Regions from separate parts of the Homo sapiens genome. Here region 1 is linked to region 2. Evidence: promoter capture Hi-C in 16 types of primary human blood cells and fetal thymus (Javierre and others, 2016). All regions are on one chromosome and are shown on one strand. The core of a region is centred on a gene start or on the middle of the fragment in contact, and the rest is flanking DNA. Distances in the headings are between cores, read along the strand shown. Region 1 overlaps EPB41L4A (erythrocyte membrane protein band 4.1 like 4A). Region 2 holds the start of TSLP (thymic stromal lymphopoietin).

Region 1 (3,867 bases), core at 1,191-3,690, 1.1 Mb before region 2:
AAACAAGAAAATAAAATTACCTGCAATACCAGCACTCAGACATATCCACTGTTATCATGTTATCATTTTTTTAATGTATTGTTCATAGTCACTATCTCTCACCACTAGGCCTGATATCATGGGGTGTATGTCCTCCTGGCCACTCATAACTTTCCTCATTCTCCCCGTGTCCACCCTGAAAGCATTCAGCTTTGAATTGCATGCCCTCACATGATACCACTCACCACTTCCGGTAGTTGTCATCAACTGCACCCTCGGTCATTTTCCCATTCTTTTAAGATTTAGGTTCTGCTGTACTGTCACTCTCTCCAGCACTATTCTAGTACTCACATAATGGATCTTTACAAAAACTTGGCTTCCACCACCCAACCATAGCCACTTAATTCCTAGGTCATACCCTTAATCAGTGGTTTTCCAACTGGGGGCAGTTTTGCTTCCAAGGGGACATTGTCTACAGACATTTTTGGCTGTCACACTGGGGAGGTGCTACTGGCGTCTAGTTGGGTAGAGGCCACAGGTGCTACTGATCATGCTACAATGCACAGGACAGCCTCCTGCAGCACAGAATTAGTATAGAAAATGTCAGTAGGGCCAAGGGTGGGAAACCCTGCTGTAACTAGAAGAAGCTGATATGCCCACTATCATACCTTCCTGAAATAAGAATAATGATCAGTAGAATAGCTTCCTAACCTGGATATTATGTAATACTTCAGACTCTTGGTTGACTGTAAGAAATAGATCCTGGGGTATAGTCACAGCTGAACCATCATTCTGTCAGAATGGAATAACACCTTAGTGCTTTTTAATATTAGCACTTTCTCTGACAGTATCATTTAATGGGGTTAACATATTATCTAGCAAATCAGACCAACCAAATGTAGGAAAGGCAGAATACATACAGGACACCAAGGAAGCAGTTTCTATGATTTGTAAGAAACATACAATTTTTTTTTTTTTTTTTTGGCACAGGGTCTCATTCTGTTGCCCAGACTGGAGTGCAGTGGTGTGATCTCGGCTTACTGCAACCTCCACCTCCCAGGTTCAAGTGATTCTCATGCCTCAACCTCCTAAGCAGTTGGAATTACAGGCACATGCCACCATGCCCAGCTAATTTTTTGTATTTTTAGTAGAGATGGGGTTTTGCCATGTTGGCCAGGCTGGTTTTGAACTCCTGACCTCAAGTGATCCACCCACCTTGGCCTCCCAAAGTGCTGGGATTACAGGCTTGAGCCACTATGCCCAGCCTAATCTTATTCTTAAAACAAAGAACATCTACATTTAACAGTACCATATTTGGTCTGAGACCAAGATTTCATCCCTTTTTCCTTTTCATGTTTTGTCTCATCCTGAGTTGATTAAAAGGTCTTTATAGACAGATCACTTTTTTCCCCCTGCACAAAGGAAAAACCATTTGGTCAACTCAGTGGCTGGAAAGTAGCTTAGTGTATTCTGTAGGTTCAGGAAGCCCTACCAGAATACCGTAGTGGTGCCCTTATGAATCGAGAAGAATGAAAGCATTAATGATATCATACACTAAAAGCATTATTGAGCCCCCCAAATGCTAATACAGATTAATCACATACAATTCCATAGGATCAGTGGCTTTTAATTATTTGTTCTTTCTTTTGGCCTATTACTAGATCTCTGTTCTCTTAAAGGGACTGATGAAAGCTTATTTTCTCACTATGAAGAAAAATCATTCTGTGTCAACAATTGCAGTGATAATAGATTTCACTGCATTCATTGCTACAATGGGAGAAATAGTTGATACTACAGAGAGTACAAACACTTGAATGCTGACTGAATTTTTCATTCTAGGAAGTTAAAGATAGTGGTATAATATCTGCTCACATACTTCTTGGAGAAAAGATTTGCAGAGTCAATAGTTAGGAATGGAGAAGGGCGTAAAGAGGGTGGCAGCATGAGCCAAGGCCACTGATAGTCCTAGCATTTGCTGGCCCAAGTTTTGTTGCAGAAATGCAACACCAGATGTAACATGAAAGATGGGTCATTGGTACAGTCTGCCATCAGGGCCATCCCACCAGTTGCTTTTTCCTTTTGGTGGTTGCTTCTCCTAGGTAATCACAGATCATGTTGGAACTTTTTAGAATCAGGATGAGTTCTTCTTTTACCATTACTTACAAATATCTGGAAAGATCAGAAACAGACGCCCTGAATCATTCTTCGTTGTACAGTTACCACTGGATGGGGAGGCATATGACCCTGCAGTTCTGAGGTCTTTCATTAAATGAAGCTCTGGTTATGACTGGGTTTTATGATTTTCCTTCAGCGGCAGTAGCAGCAATTTAGCTGCTGGTGTCTTTATACTAACCATCACAATGGCTCTCCCTGTCCAGTCTTTCCTTGTCTGTTCTCAGCTGGCAAATAAGAACTTCACAGTCTGAAAACTATTAAAGTTAGTTATTAGGTTGTGAGATGAAGCATGTTTGCAGAGATGAATGTTGTTTTCTCTATTTATAGGAGAAGCCCCGATATCCAAGCAAAAGAAGAGTTATGGAAGCACATTCAGTGAGTAATAGTTTTCTTTCTTATTGTTTTAAAACCCATGTAGTTTTAATGCAATTGCAAGGAAGACTCCTGATACTGAGAGGCAACTTCAGCGTGATGCCTGCCAAAGCCATTGCCACTGTGTGTGGCAGGCACATGGAGCACATGGTGGTGGTGCCTTAACCATATCAACACCTATCTACAGGCAACCCTGACACCTCCTCACCTTGGGTCATTTAGTCTCGCCTCTAAATGGACCTCAGACAGGCCAATAGTTTACAAATAAATACCAAGGAAAACAAATCCAGAAGAAAAAAGACACCTACCACAGGGGAGAGAAGCAGATCTTTTATAGGGAAATGGGGAATGACTGGAGTCTGAATGTAGAAGAATTGAAAGAAGGCAAAAGAGCTACAGAAAAGGTTTTACCCCTCCTATTTTTCCTTGAACACGTTTAGTTTTTATAAATTTTCATTAGTTTTACTAACACTGTTTTGGGACAAGATTAGAAAGGGAAAACTCACCTGCCGATTGTGAAAGATACTAGCATTTATACCAGCACCACAACTATCATTTTCTTGCATATTCCTTTACAGAAAAGAACTTGTGGATCCATCCGGATTGTCCGAAGAACAATTAAAAGAGATTCCATACACTAAAATAGAGTGAGTGCCTTTCAGAATCTTCTCACCAAAGCTTTATTAGTGCTTGTGAGTAATCCATTCTAATTCTTCAATTGTGTTCCAGACAGTGCTTTAATTTGTCTTTACATTTTAAACAAAACTAGGTGACAGTAGCGAAAGAGGAAGAAAAGTGTGCATTAAAGCTACTTATTCTACACTATAATCACTATCATCTCTTATTAGCCACCTCTTTGTACTTGGTAGGTACAAGGGGGCTTTTCCTGATTAATGTCAGTTTTAAAATAAATTCTTTTCTGAGATTCTCACTGATAAAGTTTTTTATCCATTATTTTACACCAAGAGAATTATGTTGACCATAAAACTCTCATATGAGCCCAGTCCCATCCCTGGCATAGAAGCAGCACATTGAGCAGGCTTCGTGAAAGCACAGCAGGAGTCCTTAGTCACCAGTGTAAGAGGAACCGTACCTGTTGACTGTGTTTTCTGCCTTACCAGTACTTGGTTAAGAGAAAGTGAGTGCCTGCTTTGTTTCCCTTCTGTAGCTATGCTGCTTTCCCACCACAGTTAAATAGCAGGTTGGTACACCCCAGCCACCCTCCGTCCCCATCTTTAGGTCAAAGATTTGAATTATTTATTTGTTTTTAATTATTAAGGTATAATTGACAAATAAAAATTGTGTATGTTTATACAATCTGATGTTTTGATATATGTATAC
Region 2 (4,212 bases), core at 1,072-3,571:
AATCTCTTAAGGAGCCCCATAATCTGAGATTTTAATGTTGAAGGTCTGGGTTGAGTACCTGGGAATTGGCATTTTTAGCAGCCATACTCTTATGCTCCAGCAATCAAAACATTCTGATATAGAAGTCTCACTCATCATAGCTTGAAACATTGCCCTAAGGTTTAGAACCATAATTCAGCCAAAACAGTATCAGAACCGTAGAAATAGGTGAGTTTGATTCCGGGTATCAACGTGGGTCTAACTGACATCCTACCACTTTTACCCGGCTCGTTTGCTCTTCGAAAGATAAAACCTAAATAAAAATAAGAGAACGACTTCTGCACCAAAGCCCCAGTTTAATTTGAGGTTAGCCCCAAGGTACAGCAAACGTCTGAGGCTTCGGGCTTACCTGAGTTTCCGAATAGCCTGGGCACCAGATAGCTAAGGCAGCCTTAGTTTTCATGGCGAACATTTCTTTGGCGAGCGACGCGCAGCCGGCGGTGGGATTGAAGGTTAGGCTCTGGATTTCAGTAAGGCAATGTGGCTGCTCATAGGCGGCAAAGTTTACGAGAAAAGGAGAAAACACCAGAGAGAGAAAGAGTTGGTGAGAATTGAGTGAAAGGGGAGGGGAGGAAGGTCAGGGAGGAGCGGGGAACACAAGTCGAGAGTCAGAGAGAAGAGGTCAGGGTTGAGTAGAGCAAGGAAGAACCAACCGCGGGGGAGCAGGGGCGTGGCGAGGGTGGCGGAGGGCACTCGTCGCGAAAAGACTGTCACCCACGCTCGCTCCTCCCAAGTCTCCAGGGGGCGGAGGCTGCCAAAATTCCGAGCCCGAGCGCGGAGGCGCCGGACCCCAGCAGGTGGTGCCCCTAACAACGTTCCCTCGTCCCAGTTCCCAATTTGCCTTTCCTCCGGATAGAGACTTCCTCTCCCTAAATTGGAACAGAAGTGTTGTCCCAAGCTAGGCGCAGCCCCGCTCTGACAGCCCAGATGTCCCCTTTCCCCCGGCGGCGGCGTCCCGGAGCCCAGGCACCTCTCGGAGTTCTGCACGTAGCAGGATACTCCCTCTCCAAAATGCCTGGCGTCTCCCTGGAGAAAGCCAGCAGCACTGAACTCTCTACTCACCCGATTGCTACAAGAGACGGTGTTGTTGAACTCGGTACTTTTGGTCTGGAAGAAAGAAAAATAGGACAAAGAGGGTAAAGACTTTTAAGTCCACAAGGAAAATCATCCCTCCACCCTTTGCTCCCAGGCTTTAAAGGTGCCCTGAAAACAGTTTCCACTCAGGTACCTTTTTCCTATGTCATTGACAAGGCAGTGAAATAGCCATTAGATAGTGCTGGTTAGTGCTTGAAACCACACCAAAAGGTTCAGGTCTCAGAGGGCGACCTCCCCCCTCCCTTCCCTCAAGCCATAACTGCACATAGCACTATGCTTGTGAGTAATAATGCCATCCTTTGGATGTCCGCATCTGTACTGTGGCCATTCATGAATGCAAACTCTGTCTAGAAATTAGGTTAATCAGGAAAATGATTACTACTGTATGTTAAAAAAAATTCCAAGTACACCATATTCTGTAATAAATAGCATCCTGAAACATCTAAAACACTGGAGAGACCTGGAGCACAGCATCAATCCTTAGAGTTTATCTCATGAGAATTATCTCTTTTACTCCTCTTTCTTAAGCTCTTACCTCCTGCTTTTTACAGCATAGTCAGAGTAACACTTTAGCAAAGGATAGACATCCTTTGACGCATAACGCGCTGTCTATCAATACCTGCTCCTCATCAGCATCTGCACACTTAGAATGTGCCAATTTCTAGATAATCATTTTAGATTAGATATTTGAATATCACTTGTAAGAATCCTTGACAAAATGTGGGGCCATGATTTTTTCTAAATTATTTTTCTTTCCTACAAAGTTAAATTGTAGAGTGTGTGTATGCCGACTCCTCTGATGAAAATACATTTGTTTTAAAAAAGCTTCTTCACTTACCCCACTCATATATGTAATCAGGTCTTTAGAAATAGTACTGAGATAGGCTGCTTTAATCTTCTCAAAGTCACAGTTAGTGAAGTCGTAAGTTAACACCAGCCCTACAAGTTGTAAGATGAAGATTTTCCTGAAAGAAACTGACAGAACATATAGTAAGGCAAAAGGGAACATACGTGGACACCCAATTCCACCCCAGTTTCACACTAAACTCTTCCCACCACGAGTGTAAGAGATCTGTAAGGCCTGCCTTAGGGGCCAGTGCTCAAGCACCAGGTTTTGCCTCTCATTGCCAGTCCACAGGAAGCCCTTATTCACCCATGCTGTTGCCTTAAGTTGGAGTCTCCCTGATGCTCCAGAGCTTTCTGGCTGCACTATATAACACCTAAACGCCTACGGGCTCTTTTCTCCTAGGCCAATGATTTTCTACCATGTCATTCTCTTCCTTTATAGAATTCTGAATTGATGATGTGAAAGGAAAAAAAAAAAGGAGTAGCTAAATCTATGGAATTTTAACATCAGTAAAGTCATCAGGAATTTCCCTCACCTTCCTCCTTTTTGCTTTGCCCTAAACACTTCATAAGTGTGAATGTCCTTTAAGAAACGGATACCAGTGTCTTTCTCCTACAGGGCATTTCCGTGACCAATCCTTTCTATTTGGGAGAAACACCTTCTGAAACCAGCAGCCACTGTAAGGATTTGGAGTCCTTGCATATGTCCCATGCATTCTGAACATCTTTGAGCATTTCCTGTGGCCACTTTCAACTAGTGCTTTCCCTTCTCCTTGGCTAGTAAGAAACTGTGCTTGCTTATGGGATGCTTTGGAGGGTGGGGTGCAGTCTCAGTCTTCGACAGCACTTCCATGTGAAAGCATTAAATGTGCAACCGTGACCAGAACCTTAGGGGCAGGAACGATAAGAGGTTGAAATAAGTGGGGAAAGATCTGATGTGGCTTGTTCTCAAAAACCCTACTTTTCAAATTTCCCATATCAATTTCAGGAAAAACGCCTACTCTTGGTGGCTAGGGGCACCTTAGGGGCTGAAGAGTCCTCTAGCACTTTCTAGCAGGTGTCAAGAACTTTTAAAACCACAAATTCCAGCGCCCAGCCACCTTCACAGTCCCACTCTTAAGGCCAGCGACACAAGAAGCGGAGCCAGACCGCGCTGCTGGGTGCCCAGCGGCGACCGCACGGAGACGATGCTGTCCTGAGCTCAGCTCTCCCGGAGGCGGCGCACGCTTTAGTGCGCTCTGCCTCGCAGAGGCTTAGCCCCGCGCAGCGTAGACTGGAAAACGTCTGTCACCTGGGGCCTCAGCCCGGGCACCAGTTTTAGAGACAGGAGAAGCATCGAGATGGCGGGCTCAGATTTTTACTAGCAAACTCTTGTTGATCCAGAAAAGAGCGCTTAAAAGCACAGCAAAGTGAGTCAGGGAGAGTGCCCTAGAGGATGTCTGTCTAGCAGTCTTCCCAGTTCCAGCAACACCAATGGAGGGTTGAAGGGAGGGAAAGGCCGACACCGATCAGGTTGCTGAGATGAACCCCCTGCTCCTCCCTGGCTTGGCTCATGCGGCCCTGGGCCCTCTCTACACCCAGGTCCCCTCTCTCTCTCTTTCCCTTCCGCTCCCCCGTCCATCGCACCCCTCACCCCCGCCCCCCGCCCTCGCGTGTCGGAGCCTGCATCGCTCTGGTCCTTGGGAAGTTCCTAGGAGTCATCGCTCGGAGAAAGGAGGTTGGACGCCGTGTGTGAGTCCCAGCAAATGTCACAGGCCATGCGGTGCCTGGGGAAAAGAGCAAGGAATGTCGAGGGATTCGGGAAAAGAGTAGGGGACAAACTGGAGCCAGAGTTGAACTCTTCTTCATAGAAGGCACTCGAGAGGGTCAGAAAACCTCTGATTCACCGCTGACTTCAAAAATGGCTCTTTTCTGGAATTCTTCATGTGTTGTACTCGAGTCACCACAGCATTCTTTGAAAAAAAAGTCCACTCTTCCCCCATCACCAACTTCTCAGGGTATTGTGGGATGATGCCAAAACCTGATTAATCTATTGTGACATCAGAGATTATTCTGGTCGGCAGCTGGACATTATTATATAGGCAGACAGGAGCTAAACTTAGATTTCTTCACTGGGCTGGGATAGCTCCAAGAGACAAAGGAAAGGGCATGGTGGCTGCTTCTGTCACCCTCACCTGACATGCCTTCCCCTCTAGTGGCTTGCTGTAGGGCCAGAGAGTGTGAGTGCCCACT

Evidence for each region. Contacts are between HindIII fragments. The CHiCAGO score rates a contact against its expected background, and 5 or more counts as called.
Region 1: a fragment that was not itself captured here is called in contact with the fragment with the promoter of TSLP in region 2 in 5 of 17 cell types (M0 macrophages, activated CD4 T cells, fetal thymus and 2 more); the score reaches 6.7 in M0 macrophages.

What each region holds. Positions count from the first base shown.
Region 1 is chr5:112,169,607-112,173,473 of GRCh38, reverse strand. It overlaps EPB41L4A (erythrocyte membrane protein band 4.1 like 4A), which reads left to right. Exons shown (of 23, transcript NM_022140.5): 19 at 2,482-2,529; 20 at 3,105-3,173. Among named protein-coding and RNA genes, the nearest start is that of SNORA13, 10 kb to the right of the region's middle. The HindIII fragment of the contact is 1,533 bases long and covers 1,674-3,206 here.
Region 2 is chr5:111,069,822-111,074,033 of GRCh38, reverse strand. TSLP (thymic stromal lymphopoietin) reads right to left here and starts at 2,321. Exons shown (of 4, transcript NM_033035.5): 1 at 1,973-2,321; 2 at 1,102-1,146; 3 at 389-523. The coding sequence starts at 2,143. The HindIII fragment of the contact is 3,260 bases long and covers 1,962-4,212 here.